Linked DNA regions of Homo sapiens: regions 2, 3, 4, 5 and 6 are each linked to region 1. The links are contacts of gene promoters, found by promoter capture Hi-C in blood cells and fetal thymus (Javierre and others, 2016). All regions are on one chromosome and are shown on one strand. Each heading gives the region's core, a stretch centred on a gene start or on the middle of the fragment in contact. The rest is flanking DNA. Distances are from core to core; before and after follow the strand shown. Region 1 holds the start of TMEM30B (transmembrane protein 30B). Region 2 has its middle 13 kb from the start of SIX1. Region 3 overlaps SYT16 (synaptotagmin 16). Region 4 holds the start of MNAT1 (MNAT1 component of CDK activating kinase). Region 5 holds the start of SYT16 (synaptotagmin 16). Region 6 overlaps SNAPC1 (small nuclear RNA activating complex polypeptide 1).

Evidence for each region. Contacts are between HindIII fragments. The CHiCAGO score rates a contact against its expected background, and 5 or more counts as called.
Region 2: a fragment that was not itself captured here is called in contact with the fragment with the promoter of TMEM30B in region 1 in 3 of 17 cell types (M1 macrophages, M0 macrophages and M2 macrophages); the score reaches 5.8 in M1 macrophages.
Region 3: a fragment that was not itself captured here is called in contact with the fragment with the promoter of TMEM30B in region 1 in 2 of 17 cell types (activated CD4 T cells and monocytes); the score reaches 7.3 in activated CD4 T cells.
Region 4: a contact is called between the fragment with the promoter of MNAT1 here and the fragment with the promoter of TMEM30B in region 1, in 1 of 17 cell types (M2 macrophages). The highest score is 6.6, in M2 macrophages.
Region 5: a contact is called between a fragment that was not itself captured here and the fragment with the promoter of TMEM30B in region 1, in 9 of 17 cell types (activated CD4 T cells, fetal thymus, total CD4 T cells and 6 more). The highest score is 10.7, in activated CD4 T cells.
Region 6: a fragment that was not itself captured here is called in contact with the fragment with the promoter of TMEM30B in region 1 in 6 of 17 cell types (naive CD4 T cells, activated CD4 T cells, naive CD8 T cells and 3 more); the score reaches 9.2 in naive CD4 T cells.

What each region holds. Positions count from the first base shown.
Region 1 is chr14:61,278,722-61,283,295 of GRCh38, forward strand. TMEM30B (transmembrane protein 30B) reads right to left here and starts at 2,617. Exons shown (of 1, transcript NM_001017970.3): 1 at 1-2,617. The coding sequence starts at 2,426. The coding sequence ends at 1,371. It also overlaps a transcript of PRKCH not described here. RefSeq lists an enhancer at 1,079-2,042. The HindIII fragment of the contact is 12,699 bases long and covers 1-4,574 here.
Region 2 is chr14:60,660,266-60,664,839 of GRCh38, forward strand. No RefSeq gene overlaps it. Among named protein-coding and RNA genes, the nearest start is that of SIX1, 13 kb to the left of the region's middle. The HindIII fragment of the contact is 7,553 bases long and covers 1-4,574 here.
Region 3 is chr14:61,863,411-61,867,984 of GRCh38, forward strand. All of the region lies in intron 1 of SYT16 (synaptotagmin 16), which reads left to right. It also overlaps the pseudogene MOCS3P1. Among named protein-coding and RNA genes, the nearest start is that of SYT16, 53 kb to the left of the region's middle. The HindIII fragment of the contact is 8,411 bases long and covers 1-4,574 here.
Region 4 is chr14:60,732,740-60,737,313 of GRCh38, forward strand. MNAT1 (MNAT1 component of CDK activating kinase) reads left to right here and starts at 2,022. Exons shown (of 8, transcript NM_002431.4): 1 at 2,022-2,212. The coding sequence starts at 2,124. RefSeq lists enhancers at 2,036-2,135, 2,246-2,315. The HindIII fragment of the contact is 2,495 bases long and covers 1,420-3,914 here.
Region 5 is chr14:61,812,401-61,816,974 of GRCh38, forward strand. SYT16 (synaptotagmin 16) reads left to right here and starts at 303. Exons shown (of 8, transcript NM_001367656.1): 1 at 303-410. The HindIII fragment of the contact is 552 bases long and covers 1,910-2,461 here.
Region 6 is chr14:61,791,977-61,796,550 of GRCh38, forward strand. SNAPC1 (small nuclear RNA activating complex polypeptide 1) reads left to right here. Exons shown (of 10, transcript NM_003082.4): 9 at 831-926; 10 at 2,973-4,452. The coding sequence ends at 3,007. Among named protein-coding and RNA genes, the nearest start is that of SYT16, 18 kb to the right of the region's middle. The HindIII fragment of the contact is 8,237 bases long and covers 1-4,574 here.

The sequences.
Region 1 (4,574 bases), core at 1,367-3,866:
TATTGCTTCTTAGAATAACTTTAAACATACTGATTGATGTTAATCAATAAAATCAATGGAATGATTTTAGTTGAGTGTAAACTTCATCTCAAAGGTTCAAATAATCTTAAGAATCTAGTTTACATATAAGACTATATATGCTTTAACATTGATTCAAATATGATTACTAGAAATCAATAGATTTCATTTGAAAAGATAAAAAAAATTTTTTTTCCAGGTCCAAGGGAAAAGGTATGAATGAAGCCCTTTCTAATCACACACACACACACACACACACACACACACACACACAATGACAAAGAACACTGAGCTAGGAGACATAGATGTGACTTTAGGGAACTTACTTTCCCTCGAAGATCTCTTCCAGCTATCTGATTCTACGTTAAAGCATTTCCTCTGAACTGTACAAACTGGCCTCACATTTTCGAGTTTCTACACAGTACCTGGCAAAGTTTGCCTGTTGGCTTTTACACCAAAATACTAAAATATCAAATGAATCACATAAACCCTGTCCTACAACTCTGTATGCCAACTAGTTTTCCCCAGATAGTAATTTTTTAAAAATTCATTCCACAAATCATCAAGAGCTTCCTACGTTCAAGGCAGAGTGCCAGACCAAACCTGGAACATCATGGTTGTCACTGCCCCTGGGAACAAATTACTATCCGAAAAAGTGAATTCAGTTGACTGCTTCAGGCCCAACCTGGTTCAGGGTCGTGATTCCCAAATTTGAGGGAATATGGGACTCTCCAGTGGAGTTTGTTAAAACACAGCTTCGAGGATCTCATCCCAGCCTTACTGTGTCTGAATCTCTGTTTGGTGTCTCCTAATCTACCTGCATATTTAACAAGCATGTTCTCCCTCACGCCTCCACGTCTCTGCAGGTAATTTGTGGGCCTCACTCTCCATTCCAGCCCACTCTCCCCGACCAAAGAAAAGAAAACCACTGTACTGTAGTGGCGAAAGCCCTGGACTCAAGATTCAGGAGTCACTTGCAGCTGCCTGATCTTTGTTACTTCACATTGCTAGGTCTCTCAATCTCTTCCTCTAATAGGGGTTTAATAGGAGTCTCCATAGGGATCCCTTCCACTCTCAGACTTGAAGAACCTCACATGGCAACTCAGTGTCGTGAAGGAGGTGGGAAGAGTTTGCAAGGATGTTTCACTCTGCAGTCAACATCCCTCCCCGCGGCAAGACAGTCTAGCAGCCCCCCAAGAGCAAGGGGGGTAATTCCCTTATCTGGTCCCCTCATTCACAAAGGGAGGAAAAGCTAGGCGAGGTTGGAATTGGGTGACGGGCGAGGAGGAGATGCCAAAAGCACCTTGCAAGAGTTTTGGCAAGAAGCAGGAGGGATCCCTGGAAAGCCGGAATCACTCCTCGTCGTCGTCGTCCTGGTCCTGGTAGCGAATGTAGACGACCAGCATGACAAAGCCGGTGAGGATGCAGAGGGAGCCGACGACCAGGTAGGCGATGCCCAGGAAGGGGTTCTTGCCACCCATCCACGAGATGCTGCTGAAGATGAGGAGCTTGTGGCCGCCGAACGCGCGCACCGGGTAGTTGTAGGTGATGTTGACGCGGTAGGCGCCCCGCGGCAGCCCGGCCGAGTAGTTGCCCTGGCGGATGCGCGCGTACAGTTTGCGGAACGTGGGCAGCGCCGCCGTGCGCATCCACACCACGAAGTCCTGATTGATGAAGCCGGTGTTGTTGGGGTCGGGGCTGAGCTCGTAGACTGGCCGGCGCCAGTTGGGCGGGGGCGCCGTGCCCTGGAAGGCCAACGCCAGGCTGCCGTTGACCAGCGGCGGGTTGCGGAACTTGACGTGGTAGTCGGTCCACCAGGCGATGCCGGAGCGGTCGAGCGGCACCTCGACGTAGGGCCCGCCGGGCTGGCGCTGGTGCCAAAGCGAGAAGGAGTCGTTGAAGAGGCTGTTGGCGATGGCGCCGCAGGGCGCGATGGGCAGGCCGGCCGCGCTGCGCTGGTAGGGGGCGCACTCGTTGACAGGGTGGCGCAGCGCGCTGGGGAGTCCGCTCAGCTGCGCGTCGTCGCGGGACACGCCGTAGCGCCGGTTGTTCTGGTAGAAGTTGGTCAGCTCGTAGTAGAGGTACACTGGGCCCTGGAAGAGCTCGGGCAGCGAGAAGTACCAGGCGCACGAGCAGGGGGGCGGCAGCGCCCGGCCCTGGCCAGCCGCGGCGCACACCGAGCAGTTACCGGTGCCCGGGTCGCCTGTATAGTCGTACTCCAGCTCCTTGATGCCGTTGGAGGAGTAGTAGAGGCCCAGGCCCAGGCCGATGAAGGCCAGGCCCGCGCAGAAGAAGAGCGGCAGCGCGATGCTGGCCGACAGCAGCGGCTGCCAGGCGGGGAGGCGCTGCTGAGTGAAGGCGGTGTTGTCGGGCTGGTGGGCGCCCCGGGCCGTGGCGCTCCAGGTCATGGCGGCCGCGCGGGGACCGACGCGCGGGCTGACCGAGTGGGGGCCCCGCCGCGGGGCGCCTCCCTCTCCGCGCCGCGCAAGCCCGGGGACTGCTCGCGGGTCGGGTTTCCCGCCAGCTCAGGTGGGTTTTTGCCCGGGCCCCTCCTCTGCCTCCGTCACAGGTGAGTTTAGTTCCAGGCCCTACGAGCAGTGCCCACACCCTCCCAGTTCCGCCTCCGCCCAGGTGCGCTGCACCCCCGCGGGTCACCGGGAGCCGCACCTCGCCCGCCCCTTCCGAGGTGAGCAGGTGGGTGTTTTTTACCTCACCTGGTAGACTCAGTCTCGCGTTTCCTCTCAGTCCAGGTCATCGGACTCCACCTCCTCTCCTAGGTGAGTGGCGGCCCCGGGCTGCCTCTGAGTGGCTCCTACCTGGCTCAGGTACCACCTTCTCTTCCGCCTTCCAAGTGACTAGAGTTCCTGGGCCAGTCTCCCGAAATCAAAAGGCGCTCCGGCCTCCAGCAGAAATTTTTGCTGAGGGCTTGCACCGTGGTCCTGGAGGCTTGAAGATTTCAGATCCTTAATCCTCTGTTATTTGCGGGGAAAAGGTGGCTCTAGACCATTTTGTCTTTTAGGTTAGCTTCACAAACCGCTTTCGCCCAGCTTTCAGTCTCAAGTTGGGAGTGTCCAGGGAATTACGTTATGATAAATCTGTTTCGAATTCAACGCCTGCGTTCAAATTTTAGCTTTTTTTTTTTTTTTTTTTTTTTTTTTTTTTAAGGGAAAATGATTTTCTGGCCAGATCACCCAGTCTGGCTGTATAACTAGGAAATGTGGAAAGTTCTCTAAAAATAAAATCATCCTTAAAAAGAATCAAAGGCTGGAGAGGTTCAGAGCCTTTAAATAACTCTTAGCTGGTGTGGAGAAACCAAGAAAGGAAAAAATGTGCTGGACTACATGTGATTTCGTTTTCTTTTCAGATTATTTGCCTGACTAGAGAAAGGCCCAATCCAAGGTCCCAGGAGACCTAGCTGCTATCCACAAAAACATCTGGAGTGTCTGGCCTAAGGAAGTAAACTACAAGGATTTATAGGATTTATTATAAAAAGAACTCAAATTAGCTCCCTATGTTGCCTGGGATTCTGGCTTTTTTTTTTTTTTTTTTAAATCTAGGTTGGTAAAACATATACAAGGGGGTATTGGGACGTTCTGATTTCTTACTAAATCTAAATCTTCCCTAGGTATTGTGTTCTTGCTTCTCCTCCAGCTTGTAAAATGCAAGTAATACAAATGTTTTCTCTATTACACTACACCTAGCATAATATATTATATTCAGGAGTCATTCAAAACCCATTGAACTTGGAAAGTTAAAATCCTTATTAAATTTAACAGAGGAATGTTGTTAGCATCTTCCAAGTGTTCAGTCCTATGCTAATTAGACAAAAAAGGACCTTTGACCTCAAGGCATTTGCAGTTTGATAGGGGACATATTAGGAGTAAGAAACAATCAAAATAGCCAATAATAGCTATGAATCATAGGGTGTAATCAAGTATCAAATTGCATTCTACAAGTCACATTAAAATTAAAAAGTAATATTGATTTAATAATGGAACATTGATTCCAGTTTGTTAAATGAATGCAAGTTGGAAACCAGGTATTATAGAAGACTGAGGGAAATTCAAGTGACTTGAATTTCAATTCCCTCACTTCTTATCATACCCAAAGAGAGGAAGTTCCAAAATTCTCAGCAAGTTCCCACAGTGTGATCCAGTCTCCAGTCACCCTTTTTTTCAATAAAAGAATAAATAGTTCTTTGTATCATTATGGTTGAGTTCCACCCACCCGTTTCATTGAATCACTAGTCCACAAAACTCGTCTCTAGGAAGGAATTCAGTTTTCACAACTTTTGTAGATTTTTTTTTTTTTGAGAGAGAGGTGTCTCCCTCAGTTGTCCAGGCTTGTCTCAAACTCTTGAGCCCAAGAGATCCTTCTGCCTCAGCCTCCCAAATTGTTGGGATTATAGGTGTGAGCCATCACACCAAGCCTATCTGGTAAATCTTAAGTCTTTTTTCTAGTAGATCACCACCACACCCCTAAAAGGGCAAGCCCCATTCTTGAGCTCAGAGCCTTTCCTCCTTTTCTCCTATTCCTGGATGGCCTAAAGGTACTAG
Region 2 (4,574 bases), core at 998-3,497, 620 kb before region 1:
AACTGAACTATCCCCAGATCTCTTTGCAGCCACTGTAAAGATGGATAAAAATACCTTTAGGTAGGCCAGGCGCAGTGGCTCAAGCCTGTAATCCCAACACTTTGGGAGGCTGAGGTGGGGCGCATCACAAGGTCAGGCGTTCGAGACCAGCCTGGCCAACATGGTGAAACCCCGTCTCTACCGAAAATACAAAAATTAGCCGGGCGTGGTGGCGCTCACCTGTAATCCCAGCTACTCAAGAGGCTGAGGCAGGAGAATTGCTTGAACCCAGGAGGCAGAGGTTGCAGTGAGTTGAGATCGTGCCACTGCACTCCAGCTTGGGCGACAAGAGTGAGACTACGTCTCAACAAAAATAATAATAATACTTTTATGTCACCCTGTAAGGAACTTCTCAATAGTGATTTGTTACTGAGTTCCAGAACATTTTTTTTTTCATATGGACCCACAGTCCAAGAGGAGTAGCCTTAACACACCATTACATGTATTCCTCACTTATTTTTCTTTGTATCTGTCAACGCATTTTTTTTTCCTTTTTTATAGATAGGATCTTGCTACATTTTCCAGGCTGGACTCAAACTCCTGGGCTCAAGCAATCCTCCCACAATAGCCTCCTGAGTAGCTGGGACTACAGGCATGTGCCACCATGCCTGGCTACTTGTCAACCTTTTTTTTTTTTTTTTTTTTTTTTGAGACGGAGTCTCCCTGTGTCGCCCAGGCTGGAGCGCAGTGGTACAATCTCTGCTCACCGCAACCTCTGCCTCTGGGGTTCAAGCGATTCTCTTGCCTCAGTCTTCTGAGTAGCTGGGATTACAGGCGCCCGCCACCATGACCGGCTAATTTTTGTATTTTTAGTAGAAACAAGGTTTCACCAGGTTGGCCAGGCTGGTCTCAAACTCCTGACCTCAAGTGATCCCCCACCCGAGTCTCAGCCTTCCAAAGTGCTGGGATTACAGTTGTGAGTCACCGCACCCAGACCTTGTCAACCCATTTTATCTGTTTATATATACCAGATTCTGATTCTTTTTCCAGTTTTTTCTTTTTTCATAAAGGTTACATATCTTGTGCTTATAAAATTAACTTTAAAAATAACACAACAATGTATGCTAATCGGTTTCAAACAAGTAGACTCAATGATACTTTGAAATCCTTTTTCCTACTCTGCAAATCGAAAATATTGGAACAATCTTTAAACATTCTCTTGAGCCAACTAGGGGTTCCTCATTACTAAAGAATTTAATGATGGCGATATGCAGATAGGTGTTGGTTTTGCTTTGTGTCTAATCAGATTCTCAAAAATCCTTAATTTTGAATGAGCAAAATTTTAAAATAACAGTTTTGCATAATTGCAACTGAAACTATAAATGGGAAGGATGATTTTTACAACCAAATGACATCAAGTAAATAATTTATTTCTAATCACTTTGCTACATTAGGGTTTACTGCTAATGAGCTAGTGGACTTTGTGATACTTTAGCTAACCCAAGGCACTTGAGGCTTTGATGACCCAAATGGTTTAGTAAGTTCAATCAATCTAGTCAATAGAAAGTGAAGATAAAGATGCACGCTGTGGTCTTAGGGAGTGCAAGTGCATGCATATGTGTGTGTGCATGTGTGTTTGGGAGGGAGATTATGTTGCTTTTTCAATTTTAAAGTTCCCCAAATACTCCAGGAAAATTTATGAGCAGATTGCATCACTCTAGTAAGCCTGAAAAAACAAGAAGTGAAATACTTCAAGAGGCAGATTCATTAATGATAGGTTAATAACTCATTAACAGCCTATACAAGGAATAGTAATAATTTTTTTTCTTTTTTCTTTCTTTTTTTTTTTTTTTTTTTTTGAGGAGTCTCACTCTGTAACCCAGGCTGGAGTGCAATGACACGATCTCAGCCTCACTGCAACCTCCGCCTCCCAGGTTCAAGCGATTCTCCTGCCTCAGCCTCCCAAGTAGCTGGGATTACAGGTGCCTGCCACCATGCCCAGCTAATTTTTGTATTTTTAGAAGAGACCAGGTTTCACTATATTGGTCAGGCTGGTCTTGAACTCCTAACCTCAGGTGATCCACCCACCTCAGCCTCTCAATGTTCTGGGATTATAGGTGTGAGCCACTGCACACAGCCCAATTTTCATTTCTTTTACCATACCTCATTCAAGAACATGTAATATTTTACAAGCCTGATCTCATCCATCTCAAAATTTTGGGAAATATCATCCTTATTACAAACAGTGATTATCTCTATTACAAAAACATAGCAAGAGCTGGGCACAGTGACTCAAGCCTGTAATGCCAACACTTTAGGAGGCTGAGATGGGAGGATCACTTGAGCCCAGGAGTTCAAGACCAGCCTGGGAAACATAGTGAGACCCTGTCTCTACAAAAAAATTTTAAAAGCCGGGCATGGTGATATGTGTCTCTGGTCCCAGTTACTGCAGAGGCTGTAGCCAGAGGATTACTTGAGCCCAGGAGTTTGAGGCTATAGCGAGCTATGATTGTACCACTGCACTTCAGCCTGGGCAACAGAGCAAGACCCTGTTTAAAAAAAAAAATCCAAAACACCGTGGCAGAGAGGTCGCATAATTTGCTTAAGGTAATATAATTCAGAGGCAGTTTGGGGGCAAGAGCTATAAATCCCAGATCCTTCCCAATTTATTTAAAAGGCAATTTTTCGCAAAGAGGTCAGTGATTAAAGTGACTTGGATTTAGTGAGTTTTTGTAAAATATTTTTCTCCTCTATAATTCAGGGTCAAGATTTGTGAGAAATTTGATAAATGTCTTTAAATTACCAAGAAAAACGATGTAACATGAAGTGGCATCAGCCCACCTAGATCTGGTAGTTCTTCCATTCTGTCTGGAAGTAAGCCATAGTCTTAGTTGGTACAAATGTCATGTGGGAGGAGACATACAGATTACAGAACCATGAGGTAATTACTACAGCTTAACTGTCCCACACAGAAGCTATTAAGTGATCATAAACAGAGTTACAATAGAATACACATTCTATGACAAGATTTGGCCTGTACTTTTAATGCTTACAATTCTTTCTTTGGCTTATTGAGGAGAAGAAATATAAGATACACTAGAAATTAAGAATTTGGTTGATCTTTAGGGCAATGCTTCACAAACTGTAATGTACATGCAATTGACCTGAAGCATTTATAAAATACAGTTTACAGGACCCTGCCCCAAGAGTTTCTGATTCCCTCGGTTTAAAGTGGGACCATGAAATCTGCATTTTAACAAGCACCCCAGATAATTTTTTTTTGAGACAGAGTTTCGCTCTGTTGCCCAGGCTGGAGTGCAATGGCACGATGTCGGCTCACTGCCACCTCCGCCTCCCGGGTTCCAACAATTCGCCAGCCTCAGCCTCCAGAGTAGCTGGGATTACAGGCGCTCGCCACCATGTCCAGCTAAGTTTTGTATTTTTAGTAGAGATGGAGTTTTACCATGTTGGCCAGGCTGGTCTCAAACTTCTGACCTCAGGTGATCCACCCACCTCAGCCTCCCAGAGTGCTGGAATTACAGGCATGAGCCACCGTGCCTGGCCGCACCCCAGATAATTTTGATGCAACTGGTCGGTGGGCTATCCTTTGAGAATAAACATCCACTCTGCCTAAGAGTAGAGCATAACAAATCAGCAGGAATAAAATCTAAACTTCAAATTTTTACCTAATCAAAATTTACTTTTCTTTGTACCATTCTAAAGAGGACTTGTAGATTAGATTTTTGGCAGGATGGGAGGAGAATCTTTGGGTTTCTGAAGAATTTTGTAGGAATTAAAATGTTTCTAACTAGTAATTAGGTATGAAATCATTTGTCCTTTTTAAGTGATTGGTCTTGCTAAATGAGATAGTAGGAAGTGACACCAGATCAGGAGTGACAAGAAAGAAAAACCTCTGAAGAAAATCCAAGCACCGTTGCAAAAATTAAGCAAATCTCATCATCCAATGAACACTGCAGAGTATCCAGTATTGCTAGCTAAATGCCAGCTTAAAAGGCCAAAAATTTTTAAACATCTCTTCATTGTACATGACCCCTGTGGAATACTGTGACTCAATTAGACCTGCCCTCCCTCAAGATTTGCAAGAAATGGAGAAGCTCTGGAGAGTTGTCACAATATGATAAAAGGAGTAGAAAATAGACTGTATGAAGAAGTTAAAAGTGGTTGTCCAGGCTGGGCACAGTGGCTCACGCCTGTAATCCCAGCACTTTGGGAGGCTGAGGCAGGCAGATTACCTGAGGTCTGGAGTTCAAGACCAGCCTGGCCAAAATGGTGAAATCCCGTCTCTACTAAAAACACAAAAATTAGCCAGGCATGGTGGTACGTGCCTGCAGTCCCAGCTACTTGGGAGGCTGAGACAGAAAAATCACATGAGCCCGGGAGTCAGAGGTTGCTGTGAGCAGAGATCACACCACTGCACTCCAGCCTGGGCGACAGAGGGAGACTCCGTCTCAAAAAAAAAAAAAAAAAAAAAGTGGTTTTCTACATTGCAAATAGAGGTCATTTTTTGCTTATAAAGGTTTATAAAGGGTTTTTATAATAAATAACATAAATCACAGCTTCTCATTTATAAAAGA
Region 3 (4,574 bases), core at 818-3,317, 580 kb after region 1:
CTTTGGTGAGGTGTTTGTAAAGCTCTTTGGCCCATTTTTCAATCAGGTTGTTTGTGTTCTTACTGTTGAATTTTAAGAGTTCTTTGTATATTTTGGATAACAGTTCTTTATCAGATAGTGTTTTGCAAATATCTTATTCCAGTCTGTGGCATATGTTCTCATTCACTTGACTTTCTCTTTCACAGAGCGGAAAGATTTAATTTTAATAAAGTCCAACTTATCAATTCTTTCTTTTGTGGATTGTGCCTTTGCTGCCGCATGTAAAAAATCATCACCAAATCCAGATCATCCAGATTTTCTCCTATGTTATCTTCTAGGGGTTTTGTAGTTTAGTGTTTTACATTTAAGGCTGTGATCCATTTTGAGTTAATTTTTGTGAAGGGTGAAATGTCTGTCTAGATTCATTTTTTTTTTGCATATCAATGCCCAGTTGTTCCAGCACCAGTCGTGGAAAAGATTATCTTTGCTCCATTGTATTGCCTTTGCTCCTTTGTCAAAAATCAGTTGACTGTATGTATGTGGGTCTAATTCTTGGCCCTCTGTTTTATTCTATTGATCGATTTATTCTTTCACCAATGCTACATTGTCTGTAGTTTTATAGCACGTCTTGAAGTTGGGTAGTATCAGTCCTCCAACTTTGTTCTTCTTCAATACTGCATGGACTATTCTGGTAATTTGTTCTGTTTTATGTGGAGGAATATACTTTTGTATGAATAGACCACAATTTGTTTATCCATTCACCAATTGGTAGACTTGGGGTTGTTTCAAATTTTCCACTATTATGAATAAAACTATTACGACCCAGGAGGAGGTACTCCCCTTACAGGCTGACGTTGTCCAACGTGAGGAGGAATTGAATTCCCTGAAGCAGAAGCTGGCAGCGGCCCTTTTGGCGGAGCAGGAACCGCAGCCAGAACGACTGGTTTCGGTGTTGCAGCTGCCGCGGAAGGCCGCTGTGTTCCAAGATGAGATTCTGCGCTCTAGCCGGCAGTTAGTGCTGCCCGAGCTGGGCGTGCACAGACACGTGCTAGTCGTGGGCTGCGGTGGGCTCCGCTGTCCACTGGCGCAGTACTTGGCAGCGGCCAGCGTGGGCCGCCTTGGCCTTGTGGATTATGATGTGGTAGAGATGAGCAACCTGGCCTACCAAGTGCTGCATGGCGAGGCACTGGCTGCACAGGCCAAGGCCGCTTCGGCCGCCGCCTCGCTGCGCGGCCTCAATTTGGCGGTGGAATGAGTGCGGTACTCTCAGGCCCTTTTATGCCGGTCCCTACCCTAGACCCGCTCCGCCGATATGATGTGGTGGCGACTGCTCGGACAACGTGTCCACTCGCTACCTGGTTAATGACGCATGTGGCTGGCCGGTTGGGCCCTAGTGTCTGCCAGCGCCTGGAGGGCTAAATCACAGTCTACCATTATGACGGTGGGCCTTGCTATCGCTGCATATTCTCCCAGCCACCCCCGGCGGAGACAGTGACCAACTGCGCGGATGGCGGGATGCTCCGTGTCTTAACCGGGGTCCTGGGCTGCCTGCAGGCCTTGAAAGTGCTGAAAATTGCTGCGAGTCTGGGCCCCTCTTACAGTGGCAGCCTGTTGCTCTTTGATGCCCTGAGAGGGCATTTCTGCTGTATTCGGCTGCGGAGCTGCAGGCTCGACTGTGCAGCTTGCGGGAAATGGCCCACTGTGACTCATCTGCTGGACTATGAAGCCTTCTGTGGCTCCTCAGCCACCGATAAATGCCGCTCCCTGCAGTTACTGGGCCCAGAGGATCGTGTTTCTGTCACTGACTATAAGCGACTTCTGGATTCTGGGGCACCCCATCTGTTGCTGGACATCAGGCCTAAGATGGAGGTGAGCATCTGTCTTTTGCCTCATGCCCTACACATCCCTCTGAACGCAGGGATGCGGAGAGCCTGAAGCTCTTAGGAGAAGCAGTCCGGAAAGGGAAACAGGGCACACAAGAAGGGGCTGCTCTCCTCATTTATGTGATTTACAAACTGGGAAATGAATCACAGAAAGCCGTGAAGATCCTCCAGGCCTCATCAGCAGCTCAAGAGTTAGACTATTTAACAGTTTGGAATATTGTGGGGGACCTCATGGCCTGGGCTGCCCAAAACGGTGGAACATTTCCACAGTACTAAGGTGACTGGTATAGTCTGATGGGAAAGATGTGGATTGCCGTAATACCGCAAAGATATATTTATTTGCATTTTTCAGTAATATACATAGGAGCTGGAGATTCTACAGTATCTGTGAATACATGGACTCCTTTTTTATAAAGAGTTTTAAAAATTGTTATATATTGGGTGACTTATTAATGGATTATACTGTTTCTGGGAATCATCATTTTTTTTCAGCACATGGAGGGTGTCTTGAACATGTGAGATGTAATGTGACAGGATTTTGTATTTAAGCTGCAGATCATTTACCTGTCCTTATTTTCCACCTCCCCCAGTCAAAATGCTTTCTAAATCATTTTATATCTGGAATTAAGGTGCAGTAAACTTAGTCTTACGAAATTGATCACAGATTATATACTTAGGATCAGTTTACTGTTTACTTAAGAAATTATTGGATCTTATTAATATTTCAGATGATAGAATACATCCTACAGAAATACATGTTTAAAATGTAAGTTGTTTTAATTATTCAGAAAGTGGGTCATTCTATTTGGCATTTTGAATTAGTATCAAAATGAGATCTTTAAAGTTTACCAAAATAAAGGAAACCACCTTTGTAGTCTGAAAAAAAAAACTATTATGAATACTCGTGTATAAGTATTTGTGTGGATACATGCTTTAATTTTTCTTGGGTAAATACCTAGGAGTTGACTTGCTGGGGCTGGGTTATATGGTAGATGGGTACACATTTAGCTCTACAAAAAATTGCCAAAAAAGGAAGAGGAGGGTGGGGGAGAAAGGAAAAAATAATTGCCAAAATGTTTTCCATAGTGGCTGTACCATTTTGTATTCTCCCTAGCAATGTATGACATTTCCAGTTGCTTTACATCTTCTATTATACTTGATATCATCAATTTATTTTTATTTTTGTCATTCTCATGGTTATAACAAGGTATCTCATGTTGGTTTTAATTTGCATTTTTCCAATGACTAATGATGTTGACCATCTTCTCATATGCTTATTTGCCATCTATACCTATTCTTTGGTAATATATGTGTTCAAATCTTTTGTTCATTTAAAAATTATGTTTGTCTTATTATTGCATTATGAGGGTTCTTTAGTGTGCATACAAGTTCTTTGTCAGATATGTATTTTGCAAATACTCTCCTGTAGTCTGTGGCTTGCCTTTTAGTTTTTCTAACAGCATGCTTTAAAGAGTAAAAATTTTAAATTTTGATAAAATCCAATTATTTTTTCTTTTATATTTAGTGCCTTCTGTGTTCTACAGAAGAAATCTTTGCCTAATCCAAAGTCAAAAGAATTTTCTCCAATGTTTTTTCCTAGAAGTTTTATAGTTTTAGATGTTACATTTAGATCTGTGATGCATTTTATATTTTTGCTTATGTTGTGAGCTAAGGGTCTAGGCTCATTTTTTTTTTCATATGCACATGTAATTATTTTAATAGCACTTGTTGAGATTATCCTTTCCCGGTTGCATTATCTAGGCATTTTTCCTGAAAAGTATTTATATATGTTTGAGATTATTTCTGGAGTCTCTCTTCTCTTTCATTGTTCTATGTGTCTATCTTTATGCTAATATCATACTGCTTTGATTACTGTAGCTTTATATATAATAAGTGTTGAAATCAGGTAGTGTAAATCTTTTTCTTTTTCATTTTTTCAATCCTGTTTTGGGTAATCTAGGTCATTTTATTTCCATGTCAATTTTAGAATTAACTCATCATTTTCTGTGAATAAATTCTTCCTGGATTTTCTTGTTTGTACGTTAAAATTTGTTGAGAAAAAGAAATAAATGGCATATAGGTTGAAAAGGAGGAAGTAAAACCCTTTATTTGCTGATTTAACCTCACGGTGACTCATTTTCTCATGCGGTTTGTGAGAATTTTGCTAGTTTGTCTTCAGTGAATTTCCCCTGTAGCCAACGTCTAGAAGACCCATATGCTCTGAACTATGAATTGGAATCTACATAAAAGCTACGAGAATTAATAAATGAGTCTAACAAGATGCAAGGGAAAATATACAAAAATTGTTTTTCTATATACTAGCAATTAACTTAAAACAATATTATTTACAATGAAAATACATTACTATTTACAATAAAAAACAATACTATTTACATCAGCATAAGAAATATGACAGACTTAGGAAGTGATTTAACAAGTTTGTACTGTTGAATAGGATGACCTTGCTCCCAGTCTTGGGGGAAAGCATTTAGTCTTTTACCATTAAGTCTGCTGTTGCTTGTAGATTTTTCAAAGATGCTCTTTATGAAGTTGAGGCAGTTTCCTTCTATTCCTAGTTTGCTGAAAGTTTTGATCAAAAATAGATGTTGAATTTTGCCAAGTGCTTTTTCTGCATCTGTAGAGAAGATCATATGGTTTTCTTTAACTAGTCTGTTAATATGTTGAATTACATTGAGTTTTGAATGTTGAATC
Region 4 (4,574 bases), core at 772-3,271, 550 kb before region 1:
TATCTGACAGATTTCCAAGTCAGCTGTTGCTACCATGCTTCCAAGTTAGTAGTTTCCCACCTAGGAAAAGGATAAAGCTTGTAGCATTGCTGCTTCTCACAATCTTTAGTGCTTTCTTTGCCTTAATCTTAAGTTTTGGGAGAAAGGAAAAGCAATTCACTTCGCAACGTGGTTGGGGTCTCATCTTCAAAGACGTAATTAAAACTGTCCTGGATAGCTGGGCATCATTACAGGCTCATGCCTGTAATCCCAGCACTTTGGGAGCCTGAGGTAGGAGGACTGCTTGAGCCCAGGAATTCAAGACCAGCCTGGGCAACATAGTGAGATCCCATTTCTTAAAAAAATAAAATAAAAAATTAGCTGGGACTGGTGGCTAGTGCCTGAGGTCCCAGCTACTTAGAAGGCTGAGGTGGGAGGATGACTTGAGCCCAGGAGTTCAAGGCTGCAATGAATTGTGATCGGGCCACTGCACTCTAGCCTGGGCAACAGAAGGAGATCCTGTTTCAAAACAAACAAACAAACACACAAAAATTGTCCTAGTGGCAATAAACTATAATGCCATCTGAGTGGATGACCTCAATGTAGTATTGGCTAAAAATTTTATTTGCACATATGACATATTCATTCTTTCACCAGAAGTTTCTTGTATGTTATCAGCTGAGCTTACATGACTATGCAGTTATAAAGAAGTATAAAGCACAGGCTATTAAATGGTCCAAAATATAAAGTACTAGAGTTGCCTTTGTTCTTGAAGAGCTTCACTCTGAATCATGTAACTGGTCTGGATGTGGTCTTTCAATAAGACAATAGCAGCAGCATAATAAGCCTCCGGGTCAGCATAGTAGCATAGTATTTGGTGTTACCTATTTTAGTAAGTTTATGTTTGGTTAACTCCTGTTGAGGAACAATATTATGATCAAAGAGATGATATGGTTTATTTATTAGATGAATCCTTGATGTCTTCATACTAATGTAAAGCTCTGTCACAGCCTGCTTTGATCTGCTGGTTCCTGGGTGTGGTATCCAGCTGTTTGTCAGCATCCCTCTCTATACCCATGGAAATCCCAACTGTATTTTTGGGTTTTGGGTTCCCTACCAGGTTCACTGTTTAAAAATGTGAATTGAATATTACTTTTTATTGAAAAGAACACAAGTTCTATGATGAGTTAAAATTACTATAAATGTTTATAGCTTATACTCATTGTATCAGATTATTTGAAAAATCTAGTTTGCATGTTCCCTTCTGATGGAGTTTGGGTCAGATGAAGGTGGTTACAAAAAATGTTTGACACTAAAAATTTTCACATTACACTATTGTTTGATAGTCATTCATTAATTCTTCACTTAGTCTACTTACTCATTAAGAATCAACAAATCTTTATTTTGGAGATGAATAAGATGTGTCCTTTACAGTGGGAAAGCTTATTATTTAATAGAGCTGTTTACAGACTTCAATTTGCCTTCTTGATAAATGTGATGAACATGGTTTACAATTTACAAAGATATTCAGGCTATCAGATCTTGGAATTGCAGAACTAAATTTTTCTGTATGTATTCTTATATGATTTTTTCCTAGGTATTTGGGGAAATAAATACTGTCTGATGGAGTAGATAGCTTTTTCATATTTTGTATCTGCGAATGCATATTATCAGCTGAGCTGACATGACTATGCAATTATAAAGAAGTATAAAGCACAGGCTATTAAATGGTCCAAAAGAAAGTAAGTACACCGCTCATAAATCTTTGAAATCATGGGAATGTTTCCAGACAGAACAAGATGGAATTTATCTTCCTAATTGTGACACAGTACCTTGAAAAATGCAACTGGGTGCGTGGAGATAAGGCTTTGTATAATTTGCCATTTTAAAAGTTCCCCTGTCAAATTCAAGGTATTAAGTTGCTTTATGGAAGGCTAAGACCAAGCCCTAGATGCAAGACCGGGGGAACTGACTGCCGGAACGTTTGTGTTGCAGCGCCTCGCCCCTTGCCGGTGCTCTTTCGCGAAGGGACCGTCTCTGCCAAGCGCCTGTTGGTAGGAACCTGCTTGGTCGCGTCTGAGGGGGCTTGTAGGTGGCTCTGGCTGAAACAGGCGCCTGCGAGAGTCTGTAGGAGGGAAACCGCCATGGACGATCAGGGTTGCCCTCGGTGTAAGACCACCAAATATCGGAACCCCTCCTTGAAGCTGATGGTGAATGTGTGCGGACACACTCTGTGAGTTGGGCGGCAGTGGATTCCCTGGGGGAGAGACGCGCTGGGTGGGAGGAGAGGACCGGGAGATGCTAGGCCTCGTCTTGGGAGCAAAGGGCGTTGTTAGTTTCAACACTGGGGAGGAAAATGGGAAAAGAAGGCGTTGTGACTTTAAATAGACTGTAGCCGCTAGCCCCGAGCGGCTCTGGCCTGCTTTGAACTGCGGGTTCTCAGTGTGGCATCCAGCAGTTTGTCAGGTTCCCCCTTCCATAGCCAATGAGTATCCCGACTGTATTTCCAGGCTTTGTGTTGTTTACTGGGCTCTGGACATCGCTGATTAAAAGCGTGGGGGATTGGAGTGTTTATTTCATATGAAATGTTTTTATTGAAAAAGTGCGAAAGTGCTATGAAAACTTAAAATTTGCTTGAGTATATACTGCTGCTATTTATTGTATGAGTTAATTAAAAAACCCTGTGTGTATGCCCACTTGTCCTGATGGAGTTCGGTTAGACTCCCATCACTAAAATGAAGAAAACCCGGACTGTAGGTAGTTAATTTTGAAGATATAATAATGGCTGGCATTTGAGTGCACATTTTGTGCCAGACAGTGTTCTAAGCGCCTTACCATGAATTATCTCAGTTCATTCCTACAACAGTCCCATGAAGTAGATACTGGTATTTCCATTTCACAGGGAAGGAAATCGAGACTGCTCAAGGTCCCTTATTAAGTGGGCCTTGAGAGAATTGGAACCCAGGAAGTCTGACTTTAGAACGCCCATTTTCAGGGGAAGGGGGCAGAAGGAGGGAGGTTGAGTTTGTGTATTTTGAAACAGGGATTGGTCAAAGTGTTTCTTGCCAGATTTCTTGTCAGATGTGGTTTAGTGAAGGTGGTTCTAGAAAGCACTTTGAGATAAAAAGGTGCCATGTAATGGCGAGCATATATTCCTGTAGTTTCTTTCAGGTTTATTGGAGGCAAAAAATAATGGATAATCTACAGTGTGTAGACAAGGTCTCCTCCCAACCCCCCAAGTGCTGACAAAAATGTAGAGCAATGACAGGGTCTTTAGGTAAGCATAAATTGCATGATTAGCTGTAGCTATAATTATTATATGGAATTTATTAGCTTACTTAACTTTTCTAATTGATCTTTATTTTCCTTTGCTTTACTCTGCAAAGAAGTATAGTAGAGCTGTGATTGAATGATTTAAGATTAGAAGTAAGGTAAAAGTAATCAAGAAGAATGCATGGAAAAGGGAATTCTACATGGAAAAACACTGTAGATAGACTGTTTTTAGAGAGATTTCGTTCAATTTCTCTCCATTTTTCTTTATCAGGTTTGTTATGGTGGAACAGGAAAGAGAGTTTGTTTTTTTTTTTGGGAAGGATACTAACTAAATGTAATTTACCAGAAGGATGCTAAATGTAATTTTCTGGCCTAGCAGCACTTAGCCATTCAGGGAAGATTATACGATTTCAGTAACATAAATGGCATTTTAATTGGGCAAGTATAAAATATTTATTTTAATTGAAATTGCTTTTGTTGTATCCTCAGCCCTTTTTGTTAAGATCTAAGAGTTAAGACTTTTGTCTAATTCATTCTGGTGTTGCATTTAATGTGGTTAATTTGCTAACCTGTTAGATAACAGGCTACATTTTACAGTCCTTTTTTGACTTGAAATGTGAACAAAATGAGTGAAAAGCTGTAGCGTATTGGCTGAGAGAACAAGCTTTGGAATGAGCCTGTCTGATTTCACATTCTTTACTCTTACCGGCTCTGTGGCCTTAGGGAAATGACTAACTCTTTGTTAGCCGTTCTTCTTGTTGGTACAATAGAGAAAATAGTGCTGCTTGTATCACGGTCCTTAAGTATTAAATAATATATGGAAAATATTTAGAGATATTTAGTATTCTGTCACATAATATTTGTTTACTATATATTGGCTATTTTATTATTATTATTCTTTGTGTGGCATGGGTGATAAGCAGAAATAAAATTAAAACAGGACTTATTTGGCCTGCTATGAAATACTTGCACAATAATGATTAGCTTTAAATGATTTCAGTACACTATGAAATGTGAAAATACAGCTTTAATTATAAGGACTCTGTTGTAATTTTCTTAATATGAACTCTTTAGCATGTTGTCTAATTAATCATCCTTTTAAAGAAGTACTTTAATCTAGGCTAACACACTGCTGTTTCTGAATGGAGGAGAGAACTCACTGATTTTTTTGGCAATCATTTAAAAAATTTAAAATTATATAAGCTATTAATAATAAAAGCAACGTAAGTTATTAAGTGAAAGGTAAAAATTTCTGTGGTTCACTTCTCCAGAGGTGACAACTTTTAGGTTGTTTGTGTATATTTTCGGATATTTTCTATGCA
Region 5 (4,574 bases), core at 936-3,435, 530 kb after region 1:
AGGAAAGGTGGCGTGGAGAGGCGACCCTAGCGTGGCCGGGAGCGTGTTTCCAAGTTGCGGCGAGCATCCTCTTTGGGGGAGGGGCGGGAAAGGAAAGGAGGGGAGGGGGACGGACGCGGCGAGGCGAGGAGGGGGAGATCCAGCCTCTAGGCGCCGCAGCTCGGCCGTTCTGCCCGGGAGGCTGGGCTCTCAGGACGCCGGCGGCGGCCGCAGGGCTGGCGGCTGCTGGGCGCGGGGCGGCGCGGGGCGGCGCGGCGCGGCGGGGGCGCGCGGCAGGAGGGGCTGTGCGCGGCGCGGCCCCCGAGCGCACCGGGCCTGCCGAGGAGCGCGCGCCCGGCCGGGCTCGGCGCCGGTTTCCCGAACCTGGGCGGCCGTCGGGCAGCCCCCTCGTCCGACCATGGCGACTGACAGTGAGTGCGCTCCGGCCGCGGAGGCCAGGGGTGGGGGGAGGCCGCGGTGCCCAGGGTGGGAAGTTCGATTTCAGACGCTGCCTTTGTGCTGGCTCGCGGCAGCAGCGGCCGGGTCCCTCTCCGCTCCTCACCCTTGGCTGCCTGGCGGGGCTTGAAAGGGCAGGTGGCCCTGGCGGCGCGCCCCGCGAGGGATGTGGCAGAAGGGCGTGCGCCTGGCGCCGAGGCGGAGGGACCCTCGATGCCGTGTGGCAGCGGGGCCTGCCATCGCAGCCCTTCGCGGGCACTGCCCCCAGGCCCAGAGCCAGCCTTCAGCGAGCCGGGCAAACGAAGGCACTGCGCGTTTTTGGCGCTGTGAGTTCAAGGTTCGCCTCGAGTTCTGGGTCGGGTTTGTGCGTCTGCCTTTTGGGGATCAGGGTGGCTTGCATGGCTCGGCTGCCCGGTGGCCCACGGGCTGTATTCGCAGCGGGCAGCACAAGGCCGGCTGGAGACCGCATCTGGTTACCATGGTCAGTGGGTGGGAGGAGTGCCTGGAGACATCAGGTTGAAACTCTGAATGGAAGCGTTGGAAGGCGCTGGGTTGGCCTGCTTTTGGCATCTTGGCACCGCTGCTCTTATGGCTCAGTGCCTTTGGAAATTGGAATCCCGTCTGTGAAAACTGGTTAAGTTAGTTGCGTTTGAAGCCAGATACGTATTAGTGAAGCTTCAAAGGGAGTTCAGAGTAAAACCAAGTCACACCTGCGTACCTAGCATCCAAAGTCCCTAGCACAGGTGTGGCGCATGTTAGGGACTTCATTAGATGAGTGAATGGGGCTGGATGTGCTGGCTCAGGCCTGTAATCCCAGCACTTTGGGAGGCCGAGGCGGGAGGATCACTTGAGCCCAGGAGTGCGAGGCTGCTGTGAGCTATGACCCTGCCATTGCACTCCAGTCTGGGCCACAGAGGAAAAAAACAAAAATCAAATGGTGTGCTGGCTACAGAGGCCCTTTGGAAGGTATTTTTTTTTTTTTTTTTTTGAGAGGTGAGGAGGAAAAGAGATGGGAAAATGAGATGTCAAAATTTCTGCAATAATTTATTATTTTTCTTGTAAACAATCATCCCAGCCAAGAACACAGCTTTAGGATAGTGTGGAGAGCTTGAGTTTTTGTAGTCAAACAGACCTGTATTTTATCTCTCTAGAATTCCCTAGCAGTGGGACCATGGCACTGTCCTCAGTTTCTCTAAATTAGGACAAGGCTGTCATTCATAGCTCTTACAAGCGATGGGCACACAGGTGGCCTTCAGTAAATGGTGGTTGTCCTCTCCCTGCTGTTTTGCCATCATCTGATATGTGTGGGGATACCAACATGCTTTCCTCCTTTTTAAAGAGAAAAATGTTGATCAGGTGTTTCCAGTAAAATCAGCTAATTTGGGCCAAATTTCCCTTTCCTCAGCTCTGTTCATTTATACAAAGTGTGATTCCATTCGTGTGTGTGTGTGTTTAGAAAAAAAATTATGGTTGAAGCTTTACTTAACAAAGTAAGACTCAACAAAGAAGGAGATCATGAGATTTGGCCTTATTGTGTTATTAATGAAAAACAAAGGCAAAGGGGTTCAAAGTATCTACCAGCAACTGTGCATCACACACATGCAGTGAGACACTGTTCTGCTATTTACTTTCTTATGTTTTGGTTAAGATGATACATTTAGTACCCTAGAAAAATAAACTGAGATGCTTCCATACCAATTTATTTAGATTGATGTTTCTTCTACTTCCTTATATGGTATACTCAACTGTACTGAAGAATCAAACTTTTGCCCATTGATTTTGTTTATGAAAAAATTATGATGATATCTGACCATCTCAGCTCTTGACCAGTTTTTTAGGCTCAATCTTATGTTCTTTCTTAGCTGAGATGGAGCTAGAAATCTGAAAGGTTTCCAAACTGTGGAGAAACATTATTTTGTCTTTTTTCTTATTCAAAACTAATGTGAGAGGCTTACTATGTGTCCCTACTATCAAAAGGGAGAGAAGGAAAGTATTCTCAGTCAGTGTCTTGAAAAATTTCCCGCAAAGCTTGACCATGTTTGCAGCCCGAAGTCCTACAACCTTCTGTTAGCATGGAGATGATTTTGAAAACGTAGAGCCCAGGGCTTCTCCCAGATACAGAATTCTTTAGTTAGCTCTGGTTCTTAGTCCTAGTTGCATATTAGAATTACTCCAGAGAGCTTTAAAAAAGACCCTGACATCAGTATTTTTAAAAAGGAGGTCTTAAACTTTAACATGCATCAGAGTTACTCAGAGGACTTATTCAAACAGATCGCTGGACTTCACTCCCAGAGTTCCTGATTCAGTAAGTCTGGGGTGCATCCTGAGAATTCACATTTCTAACAAGTTCCAGTGATACAGGAACTACTGTTCCTCTGTCCTTCTCCTTACCTCTGCAGGTGAGGAAGTGACAGGTGAGAGGGAGGTAGGAACAGAGTGATGATCACTTCTTTAGCAGTCCTGTCTTGTCACCATGCAGTGACTACATGACCTCGATAAGATAAATCAAACCTGGGCACAATATTGCCTTAGGGCTATAGCTGAGTGCTTCCCTCAACCCCCATTTTTCTCCCCCACAAAATTTCCCCTTGAGGGAAAAATTGGTTCTAAAACCAGGCGAAATCCAAGTATTCTATTCCAGTCATTTCTGGAGAGAATCCAGAAAGACCTTCTATATGAATGTAGCATGTAAATTATATAAAATATGGAGATATTTTTAAAATATTTGCCTGGAAACTTATAATGTTCACAAAAAAGAACATAGCCAATAGAAAATGTTCTTATATCTAGATAGCATGCTGTCTAAGGGCAGATTCCAGAGGAGAAAAGGGGAACTCGAGAGCTTCAACTAGGTTTTCAGTAAGTTATCATGAAATCGTGAGGAACTTTGAGATCCCAGTCTGTTATATAAAGTGGTGGTACTTGGGTACTGAACTATTTCATGATTTCCTCAGTGACAAGTATTCCAGATAATATTTTGTTTCCAGAACACAAAAGTAGTGAAGCGCTATTTTATTTTTTTATTCCATTTATGGCATATGTTGCATTATTAGTACTTCCTTTTATAGGTGTTTAGTTTTGAAGTCACTTTAATCTGTTTGTAAGAATAATTTCTTAGGATCAGCCAGGCATGTTTAGGTAATGTTGGAAACATCTAACTCTATTATACCCCAGAAATCTTGGGCAGTTTTCAGGTGGATGTGTCTTTGGGGCTGTGACAGATGAACATTTGGTATTGTAAAAGGAGACATCTGTCCCCGTTTGGGTGCTCCTGGTTTCCTGGCTGATCTTGTGTCATTTTTGCCTGTTGCATCCCAGGCTGATGTTCCTGCCCTGCAGTCAGTCTCCACCAGCAGCCACTTTTTCCCTCCTTCTTTCTTGTTGGCAACCTGCAGTTTCCTTTCTCCCCATCCTGTCTACTCCATCAGCAATTTCCACTCAGTGCTCAGTCCTGGAAGAGGGTGGGTGGGGGTCGGGGATCAAATATAAGCCCTCAACAAGTCCACGTTAGAAACTAGTGCTAAACAGTGACTTGAGATATTCAGGATTTCAGATGCCTAGACTTTAAAAGAAAATTGCTTCACTTTGGCTGAAAATGGATGGAAAATCTTGAGTTAAATGATTTCTAACCCTAGTCATTATTAAAAAGTTTACAAATGATGCCAACTAAAAAATATAGACAAAGAGAGTTAGAAAATTACTACTTTGAAACCATCATAGCAATAATTAATTCAAGCAAGATTCATCCATGGATGCTGAACTGTTATGTGAAAATTTTAAGAGGAACAGAATTATTTACATTGTTAAAGAATTTCCCCCAGGACAACCCATTTCTTTAGGATCCCTCTCTGCTGCAGAGAGCTCTTTCTTTCTTAGTTAAGAACTTCCACTCTTGGCCGGGCGCGGTGGCTCACGCCTGTAATCCCAGCACTTTGGGAGGCCGAGGCGGACGGATCACGAGGTCAGGAGATGAAGACCATCCTGGCTAACATGGTGAAACCCCGTCTCCACTAAAAATACAAAAAATTAGCCGGGCGTGGTGGCGGGCGCTTGTAGTCCCATCTACTCGGGAGGCTGAGGCAGGAGAATGGCGTGAACCCGGAAGGTGGAGCTTGCAGTGAGCCGAGATCCTGCCACTG
Region 6 (4,574 bases), core at 1,126-3,625, 510 kb after region 1:
GTTCTCAGTGTGCAGGCTCAGGAGGCAGAGGCAGGAGAATTGCTTGAACCCAGGAGGCAGAGGTTGCAATGAGCCAAGATCGCGCCACTGCACTGCAGCCTGGGTGACAGAGTGAGACTCCATTAAAAAAGAAAAAAAAAAAAAAGCAAGATATAACATATCAAATGATAAAAGTGTTGGGGCAAAGAAAAACAGCATAAAAAATAGTCACTGTTTATGGGGGTTGCTTTTGGGACATGGAAATTGTGTGCTAAATGGTACTTGATATGACAATGGTATCTGATAAATTTGGTTGGGATACTTCTTCAGGTAACAGAAGGTTGATGTAGAGAACCTCTAGTGTTTTTGAAAATGGAAAGTCAATCGCAAATTATGACTAGAGGAATATATCTTGTAGAGCATATGTGGTGAGAAAAGAAAGTATGTTCACATCCAAAAGTAAGGCTGTTAAACTCAAAAATTACATTTGTAATTAATTTAATAAAGTTGAAGTAACATATGTGATTATTCTTTGATGGCTGCAGATATAACCCCTGTCATGTGTGGTAAAGATTAAATATGGTATTTGTGTTTGGCTAATTTTGTTTATTCCTTTTTTCTCTGTTTTCTCTAGTGGAAGAACTAGAGACTATTTTCAAAGTATAAATACAAATATGTTAGTATTTGAAAAAATATAGGTATTCTAGAATGCGTATTTCTGTTACCATTACAGTTTCAGTTTTTACATGTCTAATTTTTATGCTGTAATAATGACAGTTTTTGTAAAATGTTTTCTCAAAGATTATAATATTCTTTGCTTTCATATAAAATCATTTTCTAAATATTTCTAGGCAATGTGCAGAATATACACAAGGAAGATAAACCTTTAAGTCTGAGTATGCCTGTAATTACAGAAGAAGAAGAGAATGAAAGTTTGAGTGGAACAGGTACAGATAAAATTTGGTCAAACTAGTCAAGTAAACTAACTTATACTCGTAGAGCATCAAGGTTTAGAACCCTTGAGGAACATGACAGTTTGCTGTGTGTTCTTGTGATCCTTTCATCTTTGACCCATTGGAGAATTTCAGTATTAGTCATATCATTAATGACATCTCAAAGTCAGGGATAATACAATAAATGAATGGTATGGATACCCATTAGGTATCCTATCAGTTTCATCTTTGTAGAGATGTCTCTGTCAGACCTCTGACCTGCTTTCATCTGGACAGTGTTCCAGTACTTCTAATCCTGACTGCTGCTCTCTTCCAGGAATTTGTTTTCTTTATTTTTTTTTCATGAGACAGGGTCTTGCTGGGTTGCCCAGGCTGGAGTGCGGTGACTTGATCACAGTGACTTACTACAGCTTCGACCTCCCCGGCTCAGGCTATCCTCCCCTCCCGCCTCAGCCTCTTGAGTCACTGGGACTGAAGGCACATGCCACCATGCCTGGCTAATTTTTGTATTTTTTGTAGAGACAGGGTCTCACTGTGTTGCCTAGGCTGGTCTCAAACTCCTGGGCTCAAGTGATCCACTTGCCTCAGCCTTCCAAAGTACTGGGATTACAGGCATGAGCCACCGTGCCTGGCCTAGGAATTTGTTTTCATCTTAATTTGTTTTTTTTACTTGTCTTTTCTCTTTTTCTTTTTCTGCCATTTCCCTTTTGTTTTTCACTGGTGGGGAATATTTTTTTTTCTTTTCTTTTTTTCTTTTTTTTTTTTTGAGACAGAGTCTTGCTCTGTCACCCAGGCTGGAGTGCAATGGCGTGATCTCAGCTCACTGCAAACACCATCTCCCAGGTTCACGCGATTCTCCTGCCTCAGCCTCCCAAGTAGCTGGGATTACAGGCACTCACCATCATGCCCGGCTCATTTTTGTATTTTTGTAGAGATGGGGTTTCACCGTGTTGGGCAGGCTGGTCTTGAACTCCTGACCTTAAGTGATCCGCTTGCCTTGGCTTCCCAAAGTGCTGGGATTACAGGTGGGAGCCACTGCACCCGGCCGGAATATTTCTTTTTGCCACATCTTTTGTAATTTTCATGTTTTTGTGTTTTCTATTACTTTCTTTGCTTTTAATGATCAGTAAACTTTAGGTTCGTGCTGTTTCTAGATGGACAATTATTCGAGTGTTGGTTCTGGCATCTCCTGTGGTAGCCAGAATGATGTGTGGTACTGGTGTTTTGGGTTACATTTCTAGGTTTAATTGAAATGAAATTGAAATCTTAGTCATTTTCTTCTTCTTAGTACTGGCCTAAATACCTTTGAGATCTAGTACCCTGGGTTCATATAATTATAGGGAGGGTGTACCCATATGAAACAACTTCACAGTAACTTATTATTAATTAGGATTTAGAATGACTAAGGGCCACTATCTCAATAGATTGATATTGCAATAGGATTGAGATCTTACTACCTTAATGGAGGTAGTATTTTTTGTTGTTATGTGTTTTTTTTGTTTGTTTGTTTGTTTTGAGATGGAGTCTCGCTCTGTCGTCCAGGCTGGAGTGCAGTGGCACGATCTTGGCTCACTGCAACCTCCACCTCCTGGGTTCAAGCAATTCTCCTGCTTCAGCCTCCTGAGTAGCTGGTACTATAGACATGTACCACCACGCCCGGCTAATTTTTTGTATTTATTTTAGTAGAGATGGGGTTTCACCATGTTAGCCAGGATGGTCTCGATCCCCTGACCTCATGATTCGCCCACCTTAGCCTCCCAGAGTGCTGGGATTATAGGCGTGAGCCACTGCACCTGGCCGATAGTATGTTTTAAACTGCTGTATCATTTTGAAGAAAAAATTCTTGAATATGTCAGGTTTAAGATTTTTTTGTTGTGTCTTTGCTGTGAGGGCATTCTTATTGTGTTGTACCAGTTAGACGTCTATGTAGTTGAAATGTGTATTATCAATTAGGTATTATCATGTAAGTGTCAGTTGTTTTTTTTGTTTGTTTTTTTTTTGTTTTTAGATCTGACTGACTTTTAAACTTTATGTCTTTAGAGTTCACTGCATCCAAGAAGAGGAGAAAACACTGAACAAAGAGCCTGGTGTAGTTTTTAATTTTGAGTTTTCTGACAGAAGAAAAGATTGATATTTTGTGTATTGAACAGGAAGACTGCCAGTATTAAAAAAATCCTTCTGGGAATCTGTAGGTTATTTCTTGGAAATTGCAATACGTAGTTCTAGAATAAAAGTACAAAAAATTAGAATAAGAATTCTTTAACATTTTCTTTAATGATTTGCATAAATGGAGATAAAACTTGTATTTAGTATGTAATAGAAAAAATTCTGTTATTCGCAGATTGTTACTATTTCCTATAAGGTTTTGTGATACTATACTGTCCTAATACAGTCTGGTAATACTATTCTATTTTATTTAAAATATTTTTTATTGAAATATTAATGTTTATTACATGCAAATAACTATTTTGTATCTACAGTCGGATAATGGATTTTTTATTTTGTATATTTATTCTATTTTGTATATTGTTAAGTGCAATAAAGTTTTTGCCTTGCTTTATTTTTTAATACATAAAACTTACATTCTCATAACGTGATTGATAACTTAGGAAGTTCACAATGTATTTTCTACTTCTGCAATTAAATATTCTTTAGTGCTTGTTTATTATTACTAAATACTAATTAAGTACTAACAAGTACTTAAATACTAATGTATTAAGTATTTAAGTACTTTCTAATAAAATCTTTAACAATAATAATGTAAATTTCAGAATGTGTCTCTGGTACAGAATAGTTGATATTAACAGAAAAAAAAAAATCTGTAGCTTCATGAATATGCCACTCTGTTAATTTCTTGTTCCAGACATTTTAATAGAGATTGCTTGAGCCATGTTGTTTGAATTGCTGCCAATAGCAGACCATATCCCTATCATGTTGTTGGCTCAACTGTTTTTTTTTTTTCCCTAATAGAGATGGAGTATCGCTATGTTGCTCAGGCTGGTCTTGAACTCCTGGGCTCAAGCTATCCTCCTGCCTCAGCCTCCCAAAGTACTGGGATTATAGGTGTGAGCTACTGTACCCAGCCTTAACCTGTTTCACAGTTGATTATACTTCATGCTGTTTTCCAGCATGGTATTATTAAGGGATTTAAAGTTTGGGTTGCATGCCTGTAATCCCAGCATTTTGGGAGGCCGAGGTGGGCGGATCACGAGGTCAGGAGATCGAGACCATCGTGACTAACACAGTGAAACCCCGTCTCTAATAAAAATACGAAAAATTAGCCAGGCGTGGTGGCGGGCGCCTGTAATCCCAGCTACTCGGGAAGCTGAGGCAGGAGAATGGTGTGAACCCAGTGAGCCGAGATCGTGCCACTGCACTCCAGCCTGGGCAACAGAGTGAGACTTCGTCTCAAAAAAAAAAAAAAGTTTGGGTTGAAGATCAAATTCGTGATATCTCTATATCTAATCTTTAAAAATCAGAATGCTAATGCTGACGCAAATAAAATTTTCATTTATTAGCATTCATGCAGTCACAATTGTTTCCTTTGATTCCTTTGACTTCAAATATATTTGGTCATAGAGGGGGCAGTTTTCATAATGTAGACATTAGGTGGAGCATCTTGGATTTAAACATTCTAGGGTT